Regions from separate parts of the Homo sapiens genome. Here region 2 is linked to region 1. Evidence: promoter capture Hi-C in 16 types of primary human blood cells and fetal thymus (Javierre and others, 2016). All regions are on one chromosome and are shown on one strand. Each heading gives the region's core, a stretch centred on a gene start or on the middle of the fragment in contact. The rest is flanking DNA. Distances are from core to core; before and after follow the strand shown. Region 1 holds the start of UBXN7-AS1 (UBXN7 antisense RNA 1). Region 2 overlaps DYNLT2B (dynein light chain Tctex-type 2B).

The links. Contacts are between HindIII fragments. The CHiCAGO score rates a contact against its expected background, and 5 or more counts as called.
Region 2: a fragment that was not itself captured here is called in contact with the fragment with the promoter of UBXN7-AS1 in region 1 in 1 of 17 cell types (megakaryocytes); the score reaches 5.0 in megakaryocytes.

The regions. Positions count from the first base shown.
Region 1 is chr3:196,428,155-196,434,472 of GRCh38, reverse strand. It overlaps UBXN7-AS1 (UBXN7 antisense RNA 1), which reads right to left and starts at 3,088. Exons shown (of 2, transcript NR_046745.1): 1 at 3,032-3,088; 2 at 1,439-2,271. UBXN7 (UBX domain protein 7) reads left to right here and starts at 2,046. Exons shown (of 11, transcript NM_015562.2): 1 at 2,046-2,146. The coding sequence starts at 2,074. RefSeq lists enhancers at 1,729-1,808, 1,741-2,514, 2,889-2,938, 2,515-3,289 and silencers at 1,849-2,098, 2,119-2,178. The HindIII fragment of the contact is 6,741 bases long and covers 1,782-6,318 here.
Region 2 is chr3:196,299,720-196,306,037 of GRCh38, reverse strand. The region is part of intron 3 of DYNLT2B (dynein light chain Tctex-type 2B); the gene reads left to right. Among named protein-coding and RNA genes, the nearest start is that of PCYT1A, 15 kb to the right of the region's middle. The HindIII fragment of the contact is 1,502 bases long and covers 2,246-3,747 here.

The DNA.
Region 1 (6,318 bases), core at 1,839-4,338:
TTGATTTGGCTTTCTTCCCTTGCCTGTTTTTGCACCTCTGCATCAAATGTGAAGGAATCAGCTGCCGAAATTTATGACTGATCCCTGCCCTTCCTCAGCCCATCTAGAGAACTGCAGCAACCTGGAAGGCAGTGCCAGGACCAATCTGTCATTTAACTTAAAATACATTTTTTTTTTTGAGACGGAGTCTTGCTCTGTCACCCAGGCTGGAGCACAGTGGCATGATCTCGGCTCACTGCAACCTCTGCCTCCCGGGTTCAAGTGATTCTCCTGCCTCAGCCTCCCAAGTAGCTGGGATTACAGGTGCCCGCGCCACCACAGCAGCTAATTTTTGTATTTTTAGTAGAGATGGGGTTTCGCCATGTTGACCAGGCTGGTCTGGAACTCCTGACCTCGGGCGATCCGCCCGCCTCGGCCTCCCAAAGTGCTGGGATTACTGGAGTCTGCTTTCTTTTACATCAATCATATCTTCTTGAAACTACAGCCCGACTGGGTGTGGTGGCTCACGCCTGTAATCCCAACACTTTGGGAGGCCGAGGCGGGTGGATCACTTGAGGTCAGTAGTTTGAGACTAGCCTGCTCAACATGGTGAAACCTCGTCTCTATTAAAAATACAAAAATTAGCCAGGCGTGGTGGCGTGTGCCTGTAATCCCAGCTACTTGGGAGGCTGAGGCAGGAGAATCGCTTGAACCCGGGAGGCGGAGCTTTCAGTAAACTGAGATTGCACCACTGCACTCCAGCCTGGGCGACAGAGCGAGACTCCCTGTCAAACAAAACAAAACAAAAAACTATACCCCTTGATTTGACATGGCTCTTTCTTAATTCTCCCCAATAGCATGTTTACTCTTAGGATGTGTCAATTCTTCAGACAGCTCATCCCATCTTTTATTGGGCCATTTTCCTATGAAGATGCAAAATATGTGGGTGGAGGTTGGAAGGTGGGAGGCTAAAACAAACGGAATCACTTGGAATCTCTTTTAACTTTATGGGCAAGGTGGGGGATTATTGGATTTGAGCGCACCCCACTCATGTAACTGTTTTGCAAAATACTTAAAATTATTCAAGGAACACACGAATATCTTTTTTTTTTTTTTTTTTTTGAGATGGATTCTTGATATATTTCCCAGTCTGGTCTCGAACTCCTTGCCTCAAGCGATTCTCCCACCTCGGCCTTCCAAAGTGCTGGGATTACAGTCATGAGCCACCGCGCCCGGCCAATAATGTTTGTTTAAAAATAAAAAGATAAATAAGAAACTCGAAGTAAGGTCCGCTTTGACCATCGTCCCGATCGTTCTCTTCTCTGGAGGTAACCGTTACCAGCGTTTTGAGCACACTTTTCCAGTCTCCTTTCTATATGTTTTCTTTCCTCTACTGCATATACAGAGTTTCTTTTTATACAAATGACGCCTCTTGGGGTCTCATTAAGACCCTAACGGGAGACGTGATGGCCAATTTATTTAAGGAAAGCAGACTAAACAATCGTTTATGAAAACCTACTGGGTGGCAACCCCGCGCTAAGTGCTTTCTTTGGCATGAAGGGTTCTGGTATTTCACTCGTCGCAATCGGTTAGCTAAGCCATTAGTTTAGAGGCTGGGGGGCGAGTACGGGGAGAGTCGCTTCAAAGCGAGGAGGTAGGGTTTGCATTTTGATGGGACCTGCAGGAAACCTAATAGAGTGCGGTACAACCGCAAAACAGAAAAATGCTGTCATCGGCAGTTGGCTCTGTCAATAAAGCTTGCGAAGCTGAAATGCGAAGAACTATCTGCCGAGACCGAAGCTTCCTTCGGAATCTAGGAATCGACACCGCGCCTGCGAGGCTAGCCTTGGAGCCCGGAGAGGAAGGCACCAGCAATGGCAAAAAGGATGCACTGAGCAGGCAGCAACCGAGCAGCCAACCCGAGAGCTGGGAGCGCGCGGGCCCGGTCGGAAAATGCGCCTGCGCAGACCGCTGGGGACGGGAGGGGCGGGGCTCGAGGGGCGGTCAATGCGCCTGCGCACACCGCACGGCGAAGTGGGGGAGGGCAGTCCGTGTGTGTCTGTGTTGTTGTTCGGCGGCGGCGGCGGCGGTAAGATGGCTGCCCACGGGGGCTCCGCGGCGTCCTCGGCGCTGAAGGGGTTAATTCAACAGTTCACCACCATTACCGGTAAGAGACGCGGTTACCGGAAGGTGGAGAGTGGGGTCCGGAGCGGGCAGCGGGTCTGCCCCGGGCTTCCCCTTACCTTCAGGCATTCCTCCTTCGGGCTTTACCCACAGCTGCCGTCCTCCCTCCTGAGGAAGAGGCGACGACGGCGTCGGGGTCTCCGGGTTCAGGCGGGAGACAGCCCCCCCCCGCTCCCGATACCCTCGTTCTCTGTCTCCTAGTAGCGTGGAGGGAGATCCCCCAACCCCCCGCCAGCCCAGACCTGGGAATGGGCCGAGTCCGTCCGCCCCCGCCGGCCCGGGGACCCGGGGGCGGGAGGAGTAGGGGGCCGCACCCGGGCCACCGCCCTCCTCCTCCTCCTTCATCATCTTCCCTTCTCTGTGCAGCCCTGCGGTGCGGTGCATCTCCTCACCTCCTTTTTTCCTTTCTTCCCCGGCCAGGTCATTCTGCCCCGGTCCCCGGCCTGCCCTTCCCCTTTCTGGGCCCCTCGGAGCCATCGCCGTGGCCCTGGCGGGTTCGGGCCCTCCCGCCTTCACGGCAAGGCCGGTGGGTTCGGCCGTGCCTTTACACTTCACGGGGGACAGGCCGCCAGAAGCGGGGGGTGCTGAGGAGGACCTCAGGGACTGAGGCTTTGAGGGAAGAATGAGGGGGAACCCCCAAGCTGAATAGGGGAGGCCTGGAAGAATCCAGGGTGGCGTTTCCCACCTCCCCATAATAAAATCATAAAGACGGAGACGATGGCGCCGGGGCCTCCTGCTGATAAGATAGGGATGGCGGCAGAAACTTCTTTGAGAGAAAATCTGTTTCTGGGTGTCGGTATCCCCGAAACCCTAGGCCTAGGTTCTCTCCCTTTGGACCCCTGCGAAGGACACACGCAGATCCTCTTACCGCCTGGAGGAAAGGCCCTAAAGCCATTCTATGAATTCTCTCTGTCTTGTTTCTCTCTGATGGTGCTGAACTTTTCTTGCATGAGTTATTAGAGGGCGGAGCAAATGATGAAGTTCTCTGTGGAGTGATTTGAGAGAAGAGTACTCCAATGTGCCTGAGTGTAATTTTGCCGTTCTAGTTTGTCGTTTTGGAAGGAGGTCAGAATGTTAGTTCCCTCTCAACGGATCTATACTTTATCTCGTAATTTGTTAGATGCGGAGAATGTTTCCACTGTTAATGTTCCTAGAGTTTAACGTGCAATATCTGGTTAAGTAAAATTTTATATTGTTTTAACTACTACAGGTTGTATACTAGTTACCGTTTTATATTAAAGCAAGTTTTATTTTTTTGCTTTGCAATGATAACGAGATATTTGACGCATTGTTATCTAGCTTGTGGGCATGGAACATCAGGTCAAAGTAAAGTAAAATTTGCAATAAAATTGGGGTGAGGAGTTGCATGATAACTTCTCTTAATATTTTTGAACTTTGTGATTGGATTATTGAAGATATAAAGGATTGGATTATTATATTAAATATGTAAAGGATTTCCTAATGTCTGACAAATCATTGCTATGGAGAAGATTATTGTGTATATAAGTTAGTGTTGCTGCATTATGCTTATATAGAAAAATCTTTGCAGTGAATCTGATAGAGAAGTGAATATCATTATTAATCCTTTAGATTTCCTAGAGATGGTTTATGATGCCACTTGGGCCTGGCGCGGTGTCTCACGCCTGTAATCCTAGCAGTTTGGGAGACGGAGGCTGGAGATTCACATGGGGCGAGGAGTTGCAGACCAGCCTGGGCAAAACATAGTGAGGCCCCATCTCTACAGAAATAAGAAAATGAGCTGGATGTAGTGGCACCGACATGTAGTCCCAGCTACTGGGGAGGCTGAGGTGGGAGGATTGCTTGAGCCTAGGAGTTCAAGGCTGCGGTGAGTAGATCATACCACTGCGCTCCATCCCTGGCAACAGAGCAAGATCATTTCTCAAAAAGAAAAAAAAAGCCACTTATTATTATTATTATTATTATTATTTTGAGACAGTCTCGCTGTGTTGCCCAGGTTGGAGTGCAGATCTCCCAGGCACGATCTTGGCTCACTGCAACCTCCACCTCCCGGGTTCAAGCGATTCTCCTGTCTCAGCCTCCCGAGTAGCTGGGACTACAAGCGCCTGTCACCAGGCCCGGCTAATTTTTGTATTTTTAGTAGAGGCGGGGTTTCATCATGTTGGCCTGGCTGGTCTTGAACTCCTGTCCTCAAATGATCCACTCACCTCAGCCTCCCAAAGTGCTAGGATTACAGGCGTGAGCCACCGCGCCTGGCCCTAAAAGCCACTTAATTAATTTTCAGTTTCTTATGCTAATTACTACTCTTCCCAAACTCTGATTGGTTTAACGCCACATTACTTCTTCTGTTGCAACATTTTTATTAGGTACACACAAAAACCGAAGTGTGGTGAGTTGAATTGACTCACTTAATTGCTTTAATTCTGTTTCTGTTCGTCTACGTAGCTTGATTGCTGGATCAAGTTGGAGTCCCTCAATCAGTAGACAGTGGTATCTGGAGATCTACAGAGCGAAAATACCTTTGAGTGTTCTTCAAATATTGTGAATTTCTATTGATAATTTTTGGGATTCTTTTTACAAGATAGTGATTAACCGTTAGAAACACATGATTGATTTCTTTTTGCCTTTTTTACATGTCTTAAAATTTTTTTGGGGTTCTCTCCACATACGTTTTAATCGTAGTGTTTATAATTAAAAGGTATTTTATATTTATTTTAGTGACCTTAATAGCTTATGCTCTGATTTCACAAAGGTTTTACTTGGAAGCTCAATATTCTTGTAAAAACAAATGCATCATCAAAAATGTGAGTCCTTACTTTTTAGGCAGGAGCAAAAAAAAGAAAAAGAAAAAATAAAAATAAATGTGAGTCTTATCTTTTTTTGGCATTTAGAAATAGAACGGAAAATTGAAAGATTTTAGAAAAGTCTTATTTCTTACTGAATAGAACAGATCTCTCTCTGATTCAGTGAGTATGAAATAATGACTGATGTTTTTTTTTTTTTTGAGACGGAGTCTCGCTCTGTCACCCAGGCTGGAGTGCAGTGGCGTGATGTTGGCTCACTGCAAGCTCTGCCTCCCAGGTTCACACCATTCTCGTGCCTCAGCCTCCCAAGTAGCTGGGACCACAGGCGCCTGCCACCACGCCTGGCTAATTTTTTGTATTTTTAGTAGAGACGGGGTTTCACCGTGTTATCTGGGATGGTCTCGATCTCCTGACCTCGTGATCCGCCTGCCTCGGCCTCCCAAAGTGCTGGGATTACACGTGTGAGCCACCGCGCCTGGCCTAATGACGGATTTTTGATTTTTTTTTTTTTTTTTTAAGAGATGGAGGTCTCCTCTCTTTGTTGCCCAAGCTGTTCTCCAGTTTCTGGGCTCAGCCATCCTCTTGCCTCAGCCCTCCCAGTAACTGGGGCTACAGGTGCACATCACTGTGCCTGGTTCAGTAATGGCTGATTAAAAAAGATTATTAAAAAGACAATATCATAAAAACTTTTTTTTTTTTTTTTGAGACGGACTGGGTCTCACACTGCCACCCAGACTAGAGTGCAGTGGTGTGATCACGGCTCACTGCAGCCTCTAGGGTAACTTTCTTTATTTTTTGTGGAGATGGGGTCTCACTTTGTTGTGCAGGCTGGTCTTGAACTCCTGGGCTCAAGCAATCCACCCACCTTGGCCTCCCAAAGTGCTGGGATTACAGGCGTGGGACACTGCACCTGGCCGAAATAATTTTGATAAAAGGGAAAAGAACTAATTCTCCTTCTCACAACAGCAATATTTATTTTACATATTATCTTCCACTTCTTGTTTATATGCTTATTTTTACATTGTGGATCATAGTATATACAATTTCTGAGATTTCTTTTTCTTTTTTTTTTTTTAAAGACGGTCTTGTTCTGTCACCCAGGCTGGAGTACAGTGGCACAATTATAGCTTGCTGCATCCTTACCGCCTGGGCTCAAGTGATTCTCCTGCCTCAGCCTCCAGAGCAGTTAAGACTACAGGCATGTGCCACCATGCCCAGCTAAAATACACGGTTCTGAAATTTTCACTTAACATTATGCTACAAACCTTTTTTGCATGGTCAGACTGATAAGCAGGTAGCCAAGAGAAGTGATGACCTTTGAAGTAACCACACTGAGAAGCTGTATACAGTATGGTTTACCATTGATGCTTGC
Region 2 (6,318 bases), core at 1,747-4,246, 130 kb after region 1:
AGACGTAAGATCTTGCTATCTTGCCCAGGCTGGAGTGCAGTGGCTATTCACAGATGTGATCATAACACACTACAGACTAGAACTCCTGGGCTCAAGTGATCCTCCCACCTCAGCCTGCCAGGTAGCTGGGACTATAGGTGCACACCACAGCATCTGGCTTTAAATTTACTTCAATGTGTTGTTTTTGCTGCCTCATTTCTCTCTTTCTTCTTTTAATCCTGCCATTTGATTTTATTTTTATGACAGTCTTGCTTCCTCACCCAGGCTGGAGTGCAGTGGCATGATCTCGGCTCACTGCAACCTCTGCCTGCCGGGTTCAAGTGATTCTCCTGCCTCAGCCTCCTGAGTAGCTGGGATTACAGGCGCTCACCACCACGCCCAGGTAATTTTTGTATTTTTAGTAGAGATGGGGTTTCACCATGTTGGCCAGGTTGGTCTCCAACTCCTGACCTCAGGTGATCCACCCACCTTGGCCTCCCAAAGTGCTGGGATTGCAGGCGTGAGCCACTGTGCCCTGTCAGTTATTTATTTATTTATTTTTTCCTGCCATTTATTTGTTGAAGAAATTGGTTTGTTTGTCCTGTAGAGTTTCCTATATTCTGGCAGTTGCTGATTATATACCTATGGTATTGTTTAATATGTCTTCTATTTCCTGTACTTCTTGAAAATAAGTAGTTAGATCTAGTCTTAATTAGCCATAGGTTTGAGGTTGGGGAAATACTGTTTTCTATACATCCTATTGCATCTTCTCAGAAGGTACAAAATAGCTGGTCATCTCTTTTTGCTTTGTTAAGGTTGATCATGGAGTTCAGATATTGTCAGATGGATCCATCTATTATAAAGTTTCCCATCAGGGCCGGGCGTGGTGGCTCACACCTGTAATCCCAGCACTTTGGGAAGCTGAGGCAGGAGGATCACTTGAGCCCAGGAGTTCCAGACCAGCCTGGGCAACACAGCAAAACTCTGTCTCTACAAAAAAATACAAAAATTAGCCGGGCATGGTGGCACACGCCTGTGGTCCCAGCTACTTGAGAGACTGAGGTGGGAGGACCTCTTGAGCCCAGGAAGGTTGAGACTGCAGTAAGCCGTGATTGTGCCACTGTACTCCAGCCTGGGTGACAGAGTGAGACCCTGCCTCAGATAGGTAGGTAGGTAGGTAGGTAGATAAGTGCTTACCTTGTCTTCTAGTTTCCATTGTTTCTGTTGAGAAGTCAGCTGTAAGTTTTATTATTCAATTTAAGATGGTATGTCCTCTCTAGCCACTATTACTTTCTTTGTATTTATTCTGCTTAGAGCACTCAGAGTCTCTTGAATCTATGGATTGATTTTTTTGTTGTTTTTTTTTTGAGATGGAGTTTCGCTTTTGTCTCCCAGGCTGTAGTGCAATGGTGCGATCTTGGCTCACTGCAAGCTCTGCCTCCCAGGTTCAAGAGATTCTCCTGCCTCAGCCTCCCGAGTAGCTGGGAGTATAGGTGCCAACACCATGCTCGGCCTTCTAAAGTCCTGGGATTACCAGTGTGAGCCACTGCACCCAGCCAGGTTGATTTTTTTTATCAGTTTGGGAAAATTCTTAGCCATTACCTTTGTTTAAAAAAAACAGTTTTTGGCCAGGTGCAGTGGCTCCCACCTGTAATCTCAGCCCTTTGGGGGACCGAGGTGGGTGGATCACTTGAGGTCAGGAGTTCGAGACCAGCCTGGCCAACCTGGCGAAACCCTGTCTCTACTAAAATTACAAAAAATTAGCCGGGCATGGTGGTGCACACCTGTAACCCCAGCCACTTGGAGGCTGAGGCAGGAGAATTGCTTGAACCTGGGAGGTGGAGGTTGCAGTGAGCTGAGATCACGCCACTGCACTCCAGCCTGGGGAACAGAGTGAAACTCTATCTCAAAAAATAAAAAAATAAAAAAACCAAGTTTTTATTTTAAAATAGTTTTAGATTTATAGAAAAGTTGCAGAGTTAGCGTATACTCCACACCCAGTTTCCCTGTTACTGTAAGAATAGTAATTATGCTATTGAGACAGTTCTTGCTCTGTCGCCCACGCTGGAGTGCAGTGGTGCAACCGTGGCTCACTGCAGCTTTGACCTCTTGGGCTTAACCAGTCCTCCTGCCTCGGCTTCCCAAAACACTGGGGTTACAGGCATCATCTACCGCACCCGGACTCCCTATGGTTAACATCTACATAGTATGGAACATTTATTATAATTAATGAAACAATATTGATACAGTGTTATCAAATAAAGCTTTGTTCTGATTTCTAGTTTGTTCCTAATGTCCTTTTTCTGCTTTAGGATTCTATCTAGGATACCACATTAAATGTCTCTTTGGGCTCTTCTTGGCGGTAACAGTTTCTCAGACTTTCTTGTTTTTCATCACCTTGACTTTTTTGAGGAGTACTGGTTAGGTGTTTTGTAGAATGTTCCTTCACTGGGATTTTTCTGCTAATGATTAGTCTGAGGTTACAGGTTTTTGGAAGGAAGATCACAGAGGTAAGACGCCATTCTCGTCATATCATATCAATGGTACATACTGTCAACATGACATGTTACTGTTCATATGAACTTTGCCTCCCTGCCTGAGCTAATGCTTCTCAGGTTTCTTTACTATAAACTTACTCTTTCTATAACTGCTCAGTGGGTTCACTTGCCCGCTGCCTAGACAGAGCCGATTCATCATGACAGGGGAATTGCCATAGAGAAAAAGTAATTCACGCACAGCCGGCTGTGCGGGAGACCGGAGTTTTATTATTACTCAAATCAGTCTCTCCCAGCATTCGGGGAGCAGAGTTTTTAAGGACAGCTTGGTGGGTGTGGAGAGCCAGTGAGCCGGGAGTGCTGATTGATCAGGGATGGAATCACAGGGAGTCAGCTGTCTTCTTGTGCTGAGTCAGTTCCTGGGTCGGGGCCACAAGATCAGATGAGCCAGTTTATCCATCTGGGTGGTGCCAGCTGATCCATCAAGTGCAGGGTCTGCAAAATATCTCAAGCGCTGATCTTAGGAGCAGTGTAGGGAGGGTCAGAATCTTGTAGCCTCCAGCTGCATGGCTCCTAAACCATCATTTCTAATCTTGTGACTAATGTTAGTCTAGTCCCCCGGCAAGAAGGAGGTCTGCTTTGGGAAAGGGCTGTTACCGTCTTTGTTTTAAACTATAAATTAAGTTTCCCCCCAAGTTAGTTCAGCCTACGCCCAGGAATGAACAAGGGCAGCTTGGAGGTTAGACGCAAGATGGAGTCGGTTAGGTTGGATCTCTTTCACTGTCTCAGTCATCATTTTGCAAAGGCGGTTTCATTTCCTCCGTGTTCATCCTGTACTCATTAGGAGGAAATCATCGTGTGCAGCCCACACTGAAAGAGCAGGGAGTTATGACCCACCTCCTCAAGGGCATCGTATCTGCGTAAATTCTTTGGAATTTTCAGCACAGGAAATTTGTCTCTCCTCTCCCATTTATTTATGTATTCTGTCATTTATTTCAACATGGACTCATGGATATTTTATACTTTGGATGATTATTCAATACTACTTTATTTATTTTGTAGTTCTAATTGTTCCAGCTTGGCCATTGAGAGCTTTCAGTGGATTCCTGTGTCCCACTGACTCTACTATTGTGGGTTTCTTTGAGCACTTCCTTACTTTCCAGCACTATCAGAAGCTCCACTGTGTTCATTCCCTACCCCAGCCCTACAATTCAGCCATTTCTCCAAGGAGCCCCTGTTCAATGTGTTGGAGAATGGCATTAGAAACTAAGCTTGGGGCCCTAGAGGTAGCCGTTCTCTTTTAAAACACTGCTGCTGCCCCTTCCACTCCGCTCTCTTTTTAGGATTTAGGTTACATGTATGTTTGGTCTTTTCTCAGTATTCCACATGTCTCTTATGCTTTTTTCTGATTTTTCTATTTCCTCTCTGTGCTTCAGTTTATATATTTTTTCTTTTTTCAGACGGAGTCTCGCTCTGTCACCCAGGCTGGAGTGCAGTGGTGTGATCTCGACTCATCGCAACCTTCACCTCCTGGGTTTAAGCGATTCTCGTGCTTCAGCCTCCCAAGTAGCAGAGACTACAGGCGTGAGCCACCGTGCCTGGCCAATTTGTATATTTTTCTATTGGCCTTTTAGGTCAATCATCCTCTTTTCTGTTGCATCTGATCTGCAGTTAAACCCATAACCTGAGTTCTTAATTTCAGTTATTGTATCTTTCAGTTTGGGAATTTACATTTAGTTTTTATAGATTTCAGTTATCTAGTAAAAGGCTTTATCCTTCAATCTTTTTTAACCCTCCCCACTCTATTTTTACATTTTAGTCATACTAATTATTTTATTTTATTTTATTTTTGAGACAGAGTCTCACTCTGTCACCCAGGCTGGAGTGCAGTGGCGCCATCTCTGCTCACTGCAGCCTCCACCTTCCAGGTTCAAGCAATTCTCCTGCCTCAGCCTCCCGAGTAATTGGGATTACTGGTGCCCACCACCACACCCGCCTAGTTTTTGTATTTTTAGTAGTGACAGGATTTCACCATGTTGACCAGGCTTATCTGGAACTCCTGATCTCAAGTGATCTGCCCCGCTCAGCCTCCCAGAGTGTTGGGATTACAGGCATGAGCCACTGCGCCCAGCCACAGTAGTTATTTTTATGTTGTTATATGCTTACTCTGGTATCTGGGTCATGTGTGAGTTTGTTTCCATTGTATTTTTCTTGATAATCATGTATATGGCTTTGTCTCTTGGCATGCCTAGTTTGAATCTTAGATATTGCTTAAAAGAATTATAGACCTCCAGATGATATTATTTTCTTCCAGAAAGGACTTAACTCTCTCTTCTGCTGTGCAGGAAGAGTATTGGCCGCTTAGCTTCAGGTACTGAGCTGAATTGAGGTTGGGTTACAGTTTTATCTTTTTAAAAAATTTTCTTTTCTTGTGCCAACTCATCTGAGAGTTGTGGTTTTAAAAAGGCCCTATCTTAAATTCATCCCTTTTTTTTTTCTTTTTTGAGACAGAGTCTCAACTCTGTTGCCCAGGCTGGAGTGCAGTGGTGCGATCTCAGCTCACTGCAACCTCTGGCTCCTGGGCTCAAGTGATCCTCCTGCTTCAGCCTCCCAAGTAGCTGGGACCGTAGGCATGAGCCACCACGCCCAACTAATTTTTGTATGTTTTTGTTGAGATGGGGTTTCACCATGTTGCCCAGGCTGGTCTTGAAGTCCTTGGCTCAAGTGATTCTCCTGCCTTGGCCTCCCCAAGTGCCCAAGTGCTAGGATTATAGGTGTGAGCCACCACACCCAGCCTCACCCTTGTTTCTATTTTTTTTTTTTTTTTTTTTTTGGAGACAGAGTTTCATTCTTGTTGCCCAGGCTGGAGTGCAATGGCATGATCTTGGCTCACCACAACCTCAGCCTCCCGGGTTCAAGTGATTCTCCTGCCTCAGCCTCCTGAGTAACCGGGATTAGAGACGCACGCCACCACGCCCGGCTAATTTCTGTATTTCAGTAGAGATGGGGTTTCACCATGTTGGCCAGGCTGGTCTCAAACTCCTGACCTCAGGTGATCCACCCACTTTGGCCTCCCAAACTGCTGGGATTATGGGCGTGAGCCACTGTGCCTGGCCCCCTTGTTTCTTAATTGTAGCCCTCCAAGTCTTTCAACCAAGAACCTCGAATGTTCATTAGGCCTCTGCAGGCCTCTACCTCCAACAGGTGCTGACTTTCAGATCTTGTCTCCTCAGCATAAAACTTTGCTCTTCATGTCAGAGGCTTTTTCCTTAGTGTACTAGTTTCCTGTTGCTGCCGTAACAAATTATCACAAACTCAGTGCTGAAAATGGCACAAATATATTACTTTACAGTTCTGGAGATCAGAAATCCAAAATGGGTTTCATTGAACTAAAATGAAGATGTCAGCAGGGCTGCATTCCTTCTGGAGGCTCTAAGACTGAATCCATTTCCTCGTCTGTTCCAGTTAGAGGCCCCTGAACTCCTTAGCCCATAAGCCGTTTCCTCCAATTTCAAAGCCAGCAGCACAGCATCTTCAACTCTCTGACTCTGACCCACCTACTCCCTCTTTCTTTTGTAAGGACCCTTGTGATTTAGTCATACTAGTTACTTTATTTTATTTTATTCTATTTTTGAGAAAGAGTCTCACTCTGTTGCCCAGGCTGGAGTGCAGTGGTGCCATCTCGGCTCACTGCAAGCTCCGCCTCCTGGGTTCACGCCATTCTCCTGCCTCAGCCTCCCGAGTAGCTGGGACTACAGGCGCCCGCCACCACACCCGGCTAATTTTTTGTATTTTTAGTAGAGACGGGGTTTCACCACGTTAGCCAGGATGGTCTCGATCTCCT